2 separate regions of the Homo sapiens genome follow, and region 2 is linked to region 1. Evidence: promoter capture Hi-C in human tissues and cell types (Jung and others, 2019). All regions are on one chromosome and are shown on one strand. Each heading gives the region's core, a stretch centred on a gene start or on the middle of the fragment in contact. The rest is flanking DNA. Distances are from core to core; before and after follow the strand shown. Region 1 holds the start of CHRDL2 (chordin like 2). Region 2 has its middle 33 kb from the start of POLD3.

Evidence for each region. The method cuts DNA at HindIII sites, captures the fragments that hold promoters and counts their contacts. A contact is called where the count stands out against the background at its distance.
Region 2: a fragment that was not itself captured here is called in contact with the fragment with the promoter of CHRDL2 in region 1 in 2 of the 25 tissues and cell types used here (heart left ventricle and thymus).

Annotation. Positions count from the first base shown.
Region 1 is chr11:74,729,673-74,733,103 of GRCh38, reverse strand. It overlaps CHRDL2 (chordin like 2), which reads left to right and starts at 1,678. Exons shown (of 11, transcript NM_001278473.3): 1 at 1,678-2,297. The coding sequence starts at 2,216. The HindIII fragment of the contact is 7,141 bases long and covers 1-3,431 here.
Region 2 is chr11:74,558,051-74,561,481 of GRCh38, reverse strand. No RefSeq gene overlaps it. Among named protein-coding and RNA genes, the nearest start is that of POLD3, 33 kb to the left of the region's middle. The HindIII fragment of the contact is 3,664 bases long and covers 103-3,431 here.

The DNA.
Region 1 (3,431 bases), core at 429-2,928:
AACCCATCTTAATCCACTTCTTACATCTAAGACATGAATATATGTGCACAGCACATTTTAAACAAAGAGAAAGGAAAAGATCACTGTCCCAAACCCTTGGGATGAGATTGTTTATGCAATTAAGCAGCACAGGATTTAACTCTGAGATCCCTGGAAGCAAAGGCAAAAAGGGAAGCATGGTGACATGCATAAGCTTGCACTATCTGTTAAAATAAAGAATACTCAGGGGAAAGGAAGAGACTGGCCAGATTAGAGTAGAAATTAAGCCTGAAGGGCACTGGACAGATCATGTTTGTCCCTGATCCTGAGAGCCCTAGGAAGGGCCAGTTTGGGGATCACTGGTTCCTCCTACTGCTCTCTTTTGGAGGGTGGAGATCTTGGGGGTAATACCCTGAAAGCACAGTGCAATGGGGAGCCCAGCCTTGGCCCAGAAAGATACCTTTACAGCCAGCCAGCCAAGTGTTTAAACCCGGAAATATGATTCCCTACCAGAGTGGGATATGGCTCAACATCCCTTCCCACCTCATACTCCTCTGGCACTCTTTGGAGTCTCCATTAGCTCTTCAAGAGAAGCTGGGCAGAAAGTTGAGGTCCAAAGCAAGGATAGATGTATTTACTCAAAGTGGCCCAACAAGTTACGGATGGAGCCAGGACAGTGACTCTGCCCTTTTGATTTCAGAGCTTGTGTGTTTCTGGTCTGGCCAGAGCTGGCTATTCTCTTCTTAGTGTCCTATTAGTGCATGTGTTCATTCAACACAAGAGATGGAGCACCATTTGAGGGCTGGAGGGTGTCAGGGCCCTGTCCTCAGGGAGCTCCCCTTCTGGTGGGAAAGAAAACTCTTTGACAATCAGCTCTCCCTAAAGATGACTGAAGGTGACCATCACTCCCAGAGAAGTGCAGGCCTCACCTGCAAAGGCAAAGGAGAGATCTTGCCTTGATTCGGGAGTGGGAGCGGGGAGCAGAGGAAGACCTCCAGGGGAAGGCACAGGATCCCTATGGGCTGACTTTCCTGAGAATGGCGCATGGGCAGACGGAGTGGGGACAGGGGCCACTGGTATTGTAGGCACCTGGAATTAGGACCCCTTCTCTTTGTGGGGTGAGTGTTTCGACGTTCATTACCTTATTTCATCTTAGCAACACTCGTGGGAAGATAGTAGAGATATTTTAAGATCTTAAAATGCCCATTTTAAAGCTGGGAAAACAGACTCTCCGGTGGCGTGCTGTAGACCACAAACTGAATTAAGAACGCCAGTGTTCTGATTCCATCCATCTGCGGAGTTCCGGGCACGCACCGCCGAGCGCCTTACCCTGAGCCTTCCCGGTACCCGCAGCCCCGACAGCTCAGCCTTCCCCACCTGAAAGTTCCACCTGAGGTCTCCCTCAACTCTGCCCTCCTGCATTCTTGGCGTCGCGGGGAGTCAGGGGTTAAACCCCGTGGCCCGCGTGGCCCCTTCCCCCTCCGCAGCCCCCTCGCCTCCACTCGGCGCCGCGCCTGGAGCGTCCGTCCCGGAGACCCGCACAAGAGAGGAGGGGAAAAAGTGGGCCTGTTTCTCGGGTGGCCAATCCACCGAGCCCGCGGTGCCCCAGAGGAGGCGCCAGCGCTAGGCCAGCGCCAGGCCGGGCTGCCTGCTTCCCGCGGCAAAGTACAAATGCGCCCGAGCGCGGCGCCTGAAGCCCTTGGCGAGCACAGCCGGCCCGCGCTCAGCCTCCCTCCGCGGCCGCCGCGCCGCCGCCGCTGCTGGGACCGCCGCCCCGCCGGGCCCCAGGCCCCCGCGGCCCGACCCCGAGCCCACCGAGCAGGGGGCGCCGGCCGCCTCTAGCCCGCGCGCCCGCAACACCCGCTGGTCCCGCGCGCCTCGCCCGGCGCTGCGCGCTCGGCAGACGCCGGTCCTCTCCCTGCTTTCTCCTCCTCTCCCTCTCACCTTCCCCCTTTCTTTGATCGCCTCTCCCTTCTGCTGGACCTTCCTTCGTCTCTCCATCTCTCCCTCCTTTCCCCGCGTTCTCTTTCCACCTTTCTCTTCTTCCCACCTTAGACCTCCCTTCCTGCCCTCCTTTCCTGCCCACCGCTGCTTCCTGGCCCTTCTCCGACCCCGCTCTAGCAGCAGACCTCCTGGGGTCTGTGGGTTGATCTGTGGCCCCTGTGCCTCCGTGTCCTTTTCGTCTCCCTTCCTCCCGACTCCGCTCCCGGACCAGCGGCCTGACCCTGGGGAAAGGATGGTTCCCGAGGTGAGGGTCCTCTCCTCCTTGCTGGGACTCGCGCTGCTCTGGTTCCCCCTGGACTCCCACGCTCGAGCCCGTAAGTAGACCGGGAGGCTGGGTGGGCAGAGGAGGGATGCGGCCCCTGGAATGTGAGGGACAGCGCCAGGACCTGGACCCCAAGCTCTTCTGACAGCCGTCCAGGCAGCACCTGTGCCGGAGGGGTGGAGACTCCGTGAGGACCAGTATGGGCCGGGGGACCGGAGGAACTCGGCACAACTCAGAACTGAGAGAGGGCTGCTGCCAGGGACCTGAGGAGGGGCACCAAGGGCAGCGGGGGGAGAGGGCAGGGCACTGTGTTTTGGGTTGGGGGAGGACTTACTGTTCCTAGGAGGGAGTCGGGTATGTCTGGCTACAGGTAAGGAGTGTGATGGAGAAGAAAAGGCTTTTTGCCTTTGGAAAGAGCCATTGGACAGAAATGAGAGGTAATTAGGATAACCTTCCCATTCTTTTCTCTCTTTTGATCCTCGCAACTCTCCAGTGAGGTGGGTATTATCATTCGCACTTTACAGATGAGAAAACTTAGGCTGAGCAAGGAGGAACTTGCTAAAACTTACAGAGCGGGTAAGCCATCCAAAGCCAGAACTCTAGTTCCAGATCCCATGCTTTATTCCCTGCCTCACATTGTCTAGAAGGAACCCTGAATTTGCAGTGTGAGACTCTGGGAGGCGGCAGGGCACAGTGAGATAGACCAGCGTCTTCACCATCCCAGCCCCGCTGAATGCCAGCTGCTGGGAGGCCGTCACAGAGTGCACCTCTCTGACCCTGGGTTTCCTAATCTATAAAGCGGAAGTAAAAATCCTAGGAGAGTTGATAGGATTAAATTAGAGAAAAGAGGTAAAGCAGCTAGCACAAGACTGGTGCTTGATAGCTTCCAAAAAAAATCAGTTCCCAATTATGCTTTTCCACATAGATACAGTGTAACATCAAACAGGTTACATCATCAATCTGAGCCTCAGTTTCCTCACTGCGCCCACAATAGGCTGGTGGTCCCCCCTCCCCATGCCCAGCCAATCTCTTAGAATGCTGTGAGGATGGAAAACCAAACCACATTCTCTTAATCAGAAGAAAGGAGCTTCATTCAAGCAGTGGGTTTCTCCAGGACATACATGGCACAGCCTGGGATTAAGACCCTGCGTTCCCAACTCCTAGTCTGGTGCTCTTTCCTCTCCCC
Region 2 (3,431 bases), core at 685-3,184, 170 kb after region 1:
CCAAACTGGAAACACACCAAATAGAATAAAGACATTGGATATAACCAATCATTGGAATACTATACAGCAGTGAGAATGCTACCTGCAACAACTAAGGTGAATATCACAAACCTATTATGAGTGAAAGAAGTTGGACACGCGATGGCTCAGGCCTGTAATCCCAGCACTTTGGGAGGCCGAGGTGGGCGGATCACGAGGTCAGGAGATCGAGACCATCCTGGCTAACACGGTGAAACCCCGTCTCTACTAAAAGTACAAAAAATTAGCCGGGCGTGGTGGTGGGCACCTGTAGTCCCAGCTACTTGGGAGGCTGAGGCAGGAGAATGGCGTGAACCCGGGAGGCAGAGCTTGCAGTGAGCCGAGATAGCGCCACTGCACTCCAGCCTGGGTGACAGAGCAAGACTCCGTCTCAAAAAAAAAAAAAAAAAAAAAAAAGAAGTTGGACACAAAAGAACACATACTATGTGATTCTACTTAACAGTTCAAAAACAGGCAAATCTAATTTTTGACGTTAGAATTCAGGACAGCATTTAGCTTTGCAGGGTGAAGTGGCTGGAAGGAGGCACAAAGGAGCTTCTGAGCTGCTGGTCATGTTCTATTTCTCCTCCTGAGTGTTGGTTACATGGAGGTGCACTTTCTCAAAATTTATTGAACTGTACACGTATGATTTATGTACTTTTCTATGAATGTTATACTTCAGTTTTGTTTTTGATTTTGTTTTTTGTTTTGAGATGGAATTTCGCTCTTGTTGCCCAGGGTGGAGTGCAGTCGCGCAATCTCAGCTCACTGCAAACTCCGCCTCCCGGGTTCAAGCGATTCTCCTGCTTCAGCCTCCCGAGTAGCTAGGATTATAGGTGCTTGCCACCACGCCCGGCTAATTTTTGTATTTTTTGTAGAGACGGGGTTTCACCATGTTGGCCAGGCTGGTCTTGAGCTCCTCAGATGATCCACCCACCTCAGCTCCCAAAGTGCTGGGATTACAGGTGTGAGCCACCGCGCCCGACCACTTCAGTTTTTAAAGTTGAATTTTGAAAATGCATTCCAGCTACTCTGCGGACTGGAGGGAGCAACTCCTTAGGCACAGAACCCAGTGGAAAAGCTGCTGGAAGAGTGGAGGCACCTCCTGCTTTTTCATTTTCTACTTAGCATGCTGTGTGCTTTTTGATGACTGTTTTTTCCAGGCAGGTTAGCTAAGCTGTTGGGAGAAGTGTGATGGATGGAAGGGGCATCATAAGTAAGAGGTCTTAAAAAACTCAAGAAAAAAAAAACGAGACTTGGAAATCTCTTCCACCCCACCTCCTCCCTGAAGTCACTCTGGCCATGGGAGTGGATGGATGAAGGTCAGAGCAGGTGAGTCACTTGCTTCCTTAACCACTGAGAATATTTTTCCCACTCTGTGCATTCAGCCTCCCCCCACTTCCCAGACATGGAGGCTTAGCTTAGGATAAGACATCATGCATCCTTTCCCAGAGACTCAATCTTCATTTCATACCTCTTTTACGTCACCTAAGTCCTTCTGGATCCTCAGGACAGGAACTGAAGCCCTGGGGATCAATGACAAGGAAGGAGCTGCTGAAAGAGGTCCCTGTCCACTGGGCAGAAGGGATCCTCCAGTCCAGAGTGCGGCTGAGCACTTGGAAGCTGGGAAGTCAGCCAGCATTTCATCTTTTGTTTTTTCCTCCTGGGGCTTCCTGTCTCAGAGGTGAATGGAGAGGGGTCATGGGGACTTCCTGGCCTCTGCAAATAAACCTTTCCATTGTCGTTGGCCAGGCAGTACTTCCAGGCCAGACAGCCCAGGTTGATGGGCAGTAACCAAAACAGCAATGCTGCCTTCAAAGGAAGCTTACCCCTAGTCCCATCAAAGGTCCCTGTGGGCTGGGCATGGCGGCTCACACCTATAATCTCAGCACTTTGGGAGGCTGAAGCAGGAGGATCACTTGAGCCCAGGAGGTCCAGGTTGTAGTGAGCCCTGATCGCATTACTGCACCCAACAGAGCAGGACCCTGTCAGAAATAAATAAATAAATAAATAAATATCCCTGCAAGAAGAGGCTATACACTGCTGAGGTGGAAAAGCAGTCATGATCGCAGCCAGAACTTGACCACTCATTGTTGAGGGGTGAGTGGGAACTAGGTGGGGGAGAAGCATCAGAGAATGTGAGGGCTGGTAGGGCCTGAGAAGTCAGCTAGTTTGTTTTCTGATGATTCCTCATACCCAGACAGTTCCTGACACGTAATAGGGACTCTATAAACATTTACTGAATAAATGAGTGGATCTAGTCCTACATTTTCATTTAAGTGAGCTGTCAGGAAAGCAAGGCCCGAAATGGAAAAGGACATTTCCCAAGGACACACAGTGAGTTAGTATCAGAACCCAGACTAGAGCTCAGGGTTCCTGAATCCCTATTCTTTCTGTTAATAACTGGGTGACAATCGGTACACAGGGGAGGGGAGCCATATTCTCCTCCTTCCTTAAGCCAAAGGAAACTGGGGACTTCAAGAAAACCACTCAGAGAGCTTGACATGTTGCACTGAAGTTTGGGAATCATAAGATATGGAGTTTGACATATTCTTGAGGAATTTAAATATTAGAGACTGAATGGAATTTGTAGGACTAGAGAGAGATGGTTGGGCTGAGAGCAAACCCTTCTCCCACTGGCCATGGGGCAAAAGCAGGTTTTTCCTAGGAACTGAGGTAGACCTGGAAGAAGGGATCTGACCTAGGATCTTCCTAAAACAGGTCTGTCCTCAAAAGAATTGCACTGAGGGCACTGGGACCCCAACAGAGAAGATGGACTGCTAAAGTTCAGGAGCCAAGCCAGAGGAGAAGCTTTGCTTCTCAAGGGAAGTATAGTTGGGGGCTCCAAGGGAGGATCCCTTAAAGGTTCCCCTAAAGCCTTTCAAAGAGATAGAATTGGTTTTGGGCATTTGTCCTGCCCAAAACAGCAACATCGTATTGTAGTTGACACTCTTTTTCCTTCATCTTCTCTCCTTCTTGGAGGCAGAGACAGACTTACCTTGAAACTAATGAAGCTTAAATTTCAGGGTTCCTCACTTACAGACCTCTTTAGTCTCACAGATTTTGTATTTGTAATTTTGTATTTTTTCCTTAAAAATATATATTATAAAATTTATATTATTTTTGTATTGATAATAAACAATTTTATACTGATGCATAAACAATTATCACAAACTTAGCCACTTATTACAAATTTATTATTTCTGCTTCTGTATACCAGAAGTCGACGTAGGGCATGACTCAATTCTCTGCTCAGGATCTCAGCAGGCTGGACTGAAAGTGCTGGTCATGTATAGGGCTCAGGGTTCTCCTTCAGGCTCACTGGTTATTGGCAGAATGCAGTTCCTTATGGTTGTAGGACTGAGGTCACCATTGTCCTGCTGGTTATCAGCCGGGGACCACTCTCAGCTCCT